Linked DNA regions of Homo sapiens: all the other regions are linked to region 3. The links are contacts of gene promoters, found by promoter capture Hi-C in blood cells and fetal thymus (Javierre and others, 2016). All regions are on one chromosome and are shown on one strand. Each heading gives the region's core, a stretch centred on a gene start or on the middle of the fragment in contact. The rest is flanking DNA. Distances are from core to core; before and after follow the strand shown. Region 1 overlaps APBB1IP (amyloid beta precursor protein binding family B member 1 interacting protein). Region 2 overlaps APBB1IP (amyloid beta precursor protein binding family B member 1 interacting protein). Region 3 holds the start of MPP7 (MAGUK p55 scaffold protein 7).

Region 1 (2,700 bases), core at 173-2,672, 1.9 Mb after region 3:
GGAGTTTCGCTCTTGAAACTTTTTTTTTTGAGATAGAGTTGCCCAAGCTGGAGTGCAATGGCATGATTTTGGCTCACTGCAACCTCCACCTCCTGGGTTCAAGCGATTCTCCTGCCTCAGCCTCCCGAGTGGCTGGGATTACAGGCATGCACCACCATGCCAGGCTAATTTTTTTGTATTTTTAGTAAAGACAGTGTTTCACCATGTTGGTCAGGCTGGTCTTGAACTCCTGACCTCAAGTGATCCTCCTGCCTCAGCCTCCCAAAGTGCTGGGGTTACCAGTGTGAGCCACCACGCCCGGCCACATATTCTTTATTCCACTTAAAACTCATAGTTCTTTACTGATGATTCTTGGTCACTTTATCAATGTCTAAGATAGCACAATTTCCGTGGTACTTACTATTAACTATTTCTAATACATGTTGTTTTTATGCTATTCAATTAAAGTAAGCTGTCTTTACTGAACAGCACAAGCTGCTTGTGACCACCCAGAGTCGGTGGAGAACCTGACTCCAGTCTGCCATGCCAGTGTTCTTTGATCCCCAGTTTGACACCATCCTTTACAAATGTATGTACATGCTTCCTAAAAGCTTTTTAAAAATTAGCACATTCAGAATAATGATTACCTCTAGCTGGGAAATGGGGAAATGTTATTGGAAGGAGACCAGGAAATGTCTTGGTAAATATTCTACTTCTTAAGCTGGGTGATAGGTACCCAGATGTTGGCTTTATTATTATTTGTTGTTATTTACATATATACATCATCTTTTGTAGATATGAAACATTTCATAATAAAACATGAAGGAAGAAATGAATCTAGTCATGATTCACTTGCTCTAATATCATTTTTTGTTTCTCTCCAGTTTGATGTGATGTAGCTCTCTGGATGCAAACCCTCCAGTCGGTTTGGGGAAACACAGTTGCTGTGTGATTTAGCTTTTATCCCCCATCCCAGCCCACAACCATCTCACTGATGAGTCTGTAACATGAAACTAAATCAAAAAGATCCCCAACAGAATTAGAAAAAATATTAAACTCACTGCTTGCTTGTTGATTTAATCAACCTAGCCGGCTGTCATGTGGGATTAGAATAAAATAAACACAAAAATGAAAACACACGATTGCTAACAAAGCAGATTCTTTTTTCAAGGCACACGTAAAGATAATAACTTCAAAGTTGATTATATTAACTTGTCTTCCCATGATAACACGATAAGTTCTTTGCTTGGTTTCCTTCTATTCAACCTTCTCCCGTGACCCTGGTTGGGGAGACCAGGGACCCTGATATGTAGTCCCACAGCACTCAACTCTGGTTCCGCATGGAATTCTACATCTCCTCTTACATCTAGTTACATCTCCTCTTCTAGACTATAAACTCATTGTGGAAAGGCCCCAGGTTTTTTCATGGGTGCCACCATCAGATGGCCCAGTTCAAACAACAGCTCTGTTTCTTACTTCCTGCGTAAGTTTCTTACCCTCTCTGTGCTTTCATCTTGATGTGATGATTAACAAGATGACACATCTAAATTAGTACAGGGCCTGGTAGTATTTATAAGTAAACATTATAATAATTATTATTTGCTATTACTATGTGATGATCAAAGAGAAAACTGAGTTGACAGAGAAGAAAGAAAATAGCTCTTATGATTCTTAATTATTCAAGTTCATGGTCAACGCTCAGGAAATGTTTTAAAACTGAGTCACGGAATCAAGCTCCAGAATATGTGGAATAATGAGAACGTGTGATGCCTTGGAGTGGTGTCACCTCTCTGCTTGCTCATGCCTGAGGTTTGGGACCAGTGGAGCCAACGGGATCTCAGGGGCTTGTGATATTTCCATGGTACCACTCAGTGAGATTAATATATTCTGCACATTTAGCCAGCCTCTTTGGAGTCCTCATTTTGGGATCACAAATTGGCTAGGAAATGATGATGCAGTGGTGGCAGGTCACATCCTCTAGTCCCCCAAAAGCTGTCCTCAGGGTCTGCCCTTCCAAGCTGCAGGTACAATCTAGTCTCTTTAACTGGGTATAGGTGTAATGGCATTCCTTCATGCGGCTAGTTCTCTCTTTTCAAGAGAAATCTAATGATTACTGTTCCAGATATCTAGCAGTTTTCTCTAAAAGTCATGTTTCTCACGATAATTAAAAGTGTAATATGTATTTTAAAATCCCCATGCAACCAGTGTAGAAATCTTACACTTTAAAATCTGGCATTTATTATGTACATGAATTTATAATAAATGCTTAAGCTTTAAGTGACTTGCCTCTTAGATGACAGCAGTGACATAAAACACACACATTCATTTTCATACTGAGAAGATACCTGTTGTGTTAATAAAAATTGTTCTGTTTTGAGGCAAGCATTCCTAAGATCACCGTAGTCTCCATAATATAAACTCATGGGGTCCTATAAAATTGTAAAGATTGTGGTCCAATAGGCTATGGAACGCAGACAATTTATTATAAGATTTGTGGACTCACTAAAATGTTTTAGGCATAAAAATAATTAAAATAAAATTGAAGAGAATTAGAAGAAAATGAAAATAATAATGCTCTTTGGAAGTAAGATGGCTTAAAGAAAATTCAAAGTGACATATCAAACAGACATTTATGGCAATGAACTTTATAAGTAGCTCATTCTAATAATAATATGGAACTATTTAAAACTTTGATTGATGAGTGAAAAAAGGCAAATCAAT
Region 2 (2,700 bases), core at 178-2,677, 1.8 Mb after region 3:
TTTATATTCATCTTAGATGAGAAAACTGAGGCATCCAGAGATAAGTAAATCGATCGAGTTTACACAAAGTAAGTCAGTCATCAAATATTTATTGATCCCAGACATGATTGGAGGCTTAAACAAATTTCTGGAAGATTTTTCTGTGTGGGTTTTCCTCAGCTGTATTTCTTCTCTTCAATGAATTTATCTGCATACTGTACATCTTTCTATGTTAAAGACAGTTAAAGAAAAATGTTTGTATCCTAGTATTGACTGCTTTTTTTTTTTTTTTTTTTTTTTTATCAGATGGAGTTTTGCTCTTGTTGCCCAGGCTGGAGTGCAATGGTGTGATCTCGGCTCACTGCAACCTCCACCTCCCAGTTCAAGAGTTTCTCCTGCCTCAGCCTCCCAAGTAGCTGGGATTACAGGCACCGGCCACCATGACCAGCTAATTTTTTTTTTTTTTTTTCACTTGAGAAAGAGTTTCACCATGTTGGCCAGGCTGGTCTCAAACACCTGACCTCAGGTGATCAGCCCGCCTCAGCCTCCCAAAGTGCTGGAGTTACAGGGACTGTTGTTTTTTTACCCTACAGTGTTTTGAGTTTATTACTAGATTGCCAAAACTAAAATAGAACTGGAATTGATGAGAAATAAGTTTCAAAAATCTGAGGCTCTCCAAGTATCAATTTGCTTTGATATTTTTATTATTTTTTAATTAGAAACCATCTGGCAACATTTTTTTCTAGGAAATAAATCAGTAGACATATTACAACTACAGATACAAAAGAGGAGAAAAAAATTTTAAAAAGCTTATGAATGGGATTGCCCTTAGGATGAAATACGCACTACAGAATTCGGATGCTCGCAAATGCTGGTGGAAACTGTGAAGTCACCTGTGTACAGTGTGATTGAAAATAACTTAGAATATTGAATTTTACCTGATTCCTTCAGTGTTGTATTTTTTCAAAATGCAATGAAAGCGTTTTATCAAGAGGAAGTGGTTCACAGAATAACACAGCATATGGTTAAAGGTTCTTGCAACGTTTGAGGGAGGAGAAAGGGGAAGCCGAGGCTTCTGTGTAGCGTAAAACAGGAAACAGAAGCATCTCTAAAGTTACGGATTATATCAAATAATTCACTCAACAGAGAACTAAGGTGAAGAAACCTCTTGGGCCAACTTAACCAACTTTGCACTGTACCCCTGAGATCGGTGAAAATCTTAATAGGCTAGCAAGTAGTTACTGAATCAAAAGGACAATGACTGTGGTCATATGATCAATTCAGACTAATATGCAGTGAGTCACAAACAAAATTCATATGGACATGTGTATATACATAGGTAGGGTCACACAGAAGGGACAGCCAAGACAACAGGGTCCTTTTGTAAGCAATATTGTCATGGCAAAAGTTACCTGTAAATAACATTTTAAATAAAAAACTAATCATTAAATGAAATGATTTATTTCAGTAATTTAAAAAAATACTAAGAGAGTGCTTTGAAAAGTCTTAGAATTTTGCAGTAAAGACACACACACACACACACACACACACACACACACACACACACGTAATGAGATGGGCTACCACATTTTAAAAAATATGATTTAGGCCAGGTGCGGTGGGTTACACCTGAAATTCAGCACTTTGGGAGGCAGAGGTGGGAGGATCACTTGAGGCCAGGAGTTCAAAACCAGCCTGGGCAATATAGCAAGACCCCATCTCTATCCCCTCTGCCAAAAAAATTAGCTGGGCATAGTGGTGCGCACCTGTGGTCTCAGCTACTCAGGAGGCTGAGGTGGGAGAATCCTTTGAGCGCAAGAGCTCATGGCTACAGTGAGCTATGACAGCACTACTGCCCTCTAGCCTGAGTGACAAAGTGTGACCCTGTCTCTAAAATTAAAAAATAAAAACAAAAATAACAAAACAAAAAATAAAAGATACAATTTTTAAATGTGCTTATTTCCAAATTGCTGTGATTTTATGCAAACCATAAAGTTAGTGAAAAATTTATGTTTTGCATAAAATCAAAGCAATTTGGAAATAAGTGGGTGGGACAAGGTGGGGACACTCTGCTAAGTCAAGCTTCAGTTAGAAAAAAGTGAGAGAACTGAACAACACCCAAAAATGTTCCCCAGGACTCAAGTGCAAGAACACTTGACACAGGACAACAGAGGTCAGCACATATGAACCCAACATCCCCACTTCCATCTGTCTGTCTGGCCTCCAGCTCTGGGAGACAAGTTGTAGACTAGTTTCACTTGGATGCCCACGGGTTGGAAAGAGAGTGCCAAGTCTCTAGATTATTTTAAGTTCCCTTTTTTTTTCTACTTTGGGTGTCTATATAAGGAATGGGGAACTGCTTTTGTATTTAGGACCTACTGTGACCTAAAACCAGAGGGACAATGCAATTTAGAATTTTTTGAAGAGATACAAATAGAAAATACTCTGTTTATCATGTTGTATTAATAAATAAAAATCATGAACATTTCTTTTTAGAAACAAAAGTCCTGTGAATAGTTAGGTCAATTCACTGTCCCCTACTTGTCTTTATTTTCTCATGAATCTATCTCAACTGGACTTTTGTTTGCACTATGTCACCAAACTGTGTGCCAAGATTACCAACAATCTGTGGTGTATGGTGGCTCATGCCTGTAATCCCAGCACTTTGGGAGGTCGAGGTAGGCAGATCACTTGAGCCCAGGAGTTAGAGACCAGCCTGGG
Region 3 (2,700 bases), core at 143-2,642:
TTACTTCTCTTTAAGTTTATGTTTACCTTAACATTCCTTTCCTTCCTCAGGTTTGCTTTTTGTCTATCTCCATTTTTCACTATTACGTAATTCACGGAGTTGCTGGGGGGAAGTGCTTAATTTCAAATAGCCTGTTTTAGAACTTTGCGAGAATGACAAGAACAAACAGAATGTTAAGGCAGCTAGAGAGAGTTAAGTGAGAGTGGTCCCTAGGTGAGAAATGCTTCTTGCCTTCTAGGCTGACACCAGTTCTGGGGGATGTGTTCTGAGAGCTCATATTAACTGCAGGTCATTGATCCTTATCTCAATCCCCTTCCTCTCCCTTCAGCTTTCCATTCAAAGTCTCTATCACATCTTGAAGTGTTGTCACATTATTTTTTTTCTGATGATTCCCTCCATCAGCTGAGCTTTCCAATTTATATTACCTGATTTTTTTTTGTCTTCTGCTTTTTACTACCCCTTTTTCTAAAGCTTTATTGATTGTGTACTTTGGATTCTAATTCTTCCTATAAGAGTCTTCCTGTAATTCTGTTTGCAGTGTAGTGCTGTCCACATTATGTGTTGGTTACATGATAGGAAGGAGTATGGGGGCACCTCGGTCACATATGTAAAGTTCTTTAAGAGAGCTGAAGGGCGCTGATACCAGTTCATGTTTTTTCGGGGTAGCCCTCAGATATTAAGCATGTTTACTGTATTTTCTTCTATTGTGAAAGAATCAGTTCTCTGGATTTCCTTAAAGTTTGTCTTTACCATTCTCCGCACCCTACTCATTTTTCTATTTAAGAATTTTTTTTTCTAATCATGTAGTACATGTTCAATATGGAACACAAAAAGGTAATAAGAAAAAGTCACCTACAGTGTCGCCAAAGGTGAAAACACCTTATGTCTTTTTTCGTGCATAACAATATCCCTCTCAATCTTATGCAGCATTTTTAAACCTAGGAGACTTGTCTGAATCCAAAGGAAGTTAAAGATTACGTTATTCACCAAGTTCATACTGAAATCAGAGAATCGCAGCGGCTTAAGAAAACTCGCATCTGGCGAATGAACCTGCGTATCCGGGGTTCTCCTCAGGGAGGTTGCTCGTCCATGAAACACACTCCAGTCTGCAGCCACCTGGGAGTGGGAACCAAGGGCGAGCGAACCGGGCGGGCAGGGGTGGAACTTGCGGGGACTGCGGGTATGAGGAGGAGCTACAGAGCTGTCACCAATCAGAGCCCAGCTTTGTTTTCTCTTGCCGACCAATGAGGGAGTTCTGCTGGAGAGGCGTCTTCAAGTCTGAGACGCCTATCGCCTTCGCAGCCTATCAGCAGGCCCCTCTTACCCGCGGGCGGTGCAGCCCCGCCCCGCCCCTCCAACCGCGGTCCCGCCCCTCCGAGGGTGGGGGCCGTGTTGGTTACTAGCCGGGCTGGAGGCGGGGGCCGGGCTCCCACTGGGCTCGTGCGTTCTGCGCCCGCCGCGGCGGTGCCGAGCCCGCTGGCTCCCGATTGTCCTCTGCGGCGGTGGCGGTCGCTGCCTCCTTGCCTCCGGGCCCGGGGCTGCAGGGGCCAGAGCGAGTGCGCCTCCTGCCCGCGGACCGCGGCAGCCCAGAGCAGGTAATGGGGCGCCTCTGGGGAGCGCCTGTCGGAGCCCAGGGCTAGGCTCGGGCGGTGGGGTCGGCCCCCGAAGCTGCTCCCTGCGCCGGCGACCGGGCCGAGCGGTGCCGCGGTCCTCCGGAGCCTCCTGCCGGCCTCTAGGCGCCTCAGCCTGGGAGCCCGCGGCGGGCACCTTGTGAGGAGGTGGGGGCGGGGCCGGGGCAGGGGCGGGGCCGCCTCGGGCGGGACCCTGAGGACCCCTGGAGACCCCTGTTGACGCGCGGGACTCCGGGCGGGGGCGGCGGCGGGGCAGACCCAGAGCGGGGAGAACCGACAGGTGGAGGAAAAACTGCGGAGTTGAGTCAGAGTCCGGCTCCCCGGGGAAAAGAACCGACTGAAAGGGAGCGATAAGCTGGCTGGCTTCTTTTTTTTCTTTCCCTAAGCCAGAAAGGCGTCTTCACTTGGGTCGTGTTAATTACATGTTTTCTGAGAACAGGCGTTTGGCCGTGTAATCTACACGATAGCATTATTTATTTACTTATTTGCTATTTAAAAAATTAAAAGCAGCATTTAGCGTGAATCTATTTGGGGGCTTTTTCTTAAGTGACAGGTAGACCCAGCCGAGTAACTCAGCTTTGTCTGGGCTGAAGTGGGGAGCGGTGAGGTAGGAATGAGGGGGAGGAGTGTTCGTGAGGAATGCCTGTGCAGGTTTGAAAGGATTGTGGGGGTGGGACCTTGTTTCTGTCACTGTGCCATGGGTGGGAGTAGAATTGTGATTTTTTTCTTTTTCTAATTTTTAAAAGCAATATTCACATTTAAAAAAGGGGGGGCTCTCTAAAAACAGTCTCTGTACTCGAGGCTTTGGGGATGCACCTGCTAGTCAGGCAGTAATAGTTTGCAGGTAAATCCTGGGCTATTAATTACGTAATTTGATTTACTTATAAAGAAGTATCTTGAATTGTTGCTGCCTTTCCTTTGACTTGCTCAATATATTGCTTGTTTACAAGTGAATTGATGAAGGTCACTGAGTTTTAGCGGTAATGTCACAGCGATGGCCCTTGGAGAGTTTTCTATGCTCAGGTTCACTCTGGTTCTATAAAAACAGTATTTCCATTTAATCGTGAAG

The links. The method cuts DNA at HindIII sites, captures the fragments that hold promoters and counts their contacts. A CHiCAGO score of 5 or more calls a contact.
Region 1: a fragment that was not itself captured here is called in contact with the fragment with the promoter of MPP7 in region 3 in 1 of 17 cell types (fetal thymus); the score reaches 5.4 in fetal thymus.
Region 2: a fragment that was not itself captured here is called in contact with the fragment with the promoter of MPP7 in region 3 in 1 of 17 cell types (non-activated CD4 T cells); the score reaches 6.5 in non-activated CD4 T cells.

The regions. Positions count from the first base shown.
Region 1 is chr10:26,440,743-26,443,442 of GRCh38, reverse strand. All of the region lies in intron 2 of APBB1IP (amyloid beta precursor protein binding family B member 1 interacting protein), which reads right to left. Among named protein-coding and RNA genes, the nearest start is that of APBB1IP, 3.8 kb to the right of the region's middle. The HindIII fragment of the contact is 1,660 bases long and covers 593-2,252 here.
Region 2 is chr10:26,480,673-26,483,372 of GRCh38, reverse strand. The region is part of intron 2 of APBB1IP (amyloid beta precursor protein binding family B member 1 interacting protein); the gene reads right to left. Among named protein-coding and RNA genes, the nearest start is that of APBB1IP, 44 kb to the right of the region's middle. The HindIII fragment of the contact is 1,273 bases long and covers 791-2,063 here.
Region 3 is chr10:28,301,756-28,304,455 of GRCh38, reverse strand. MPP7 (MAGUK p55 scaffold protein 7) reads left to right here and starts at 1,392. Exons shown (of 17, transcript NM_001318170.2): 1 at 1,392-1,595. MPP7-DT (MPP7 divergent transcript) reads right to left here and starts at 1,287. Exons shown (of 2, transcript XR_930772.3): 1 at 27-1,287. RefSeq lists a silencer at 1,206-1,845. The HindIII fragment of the contact is 2,637 bases long and covers 474-2,700 here.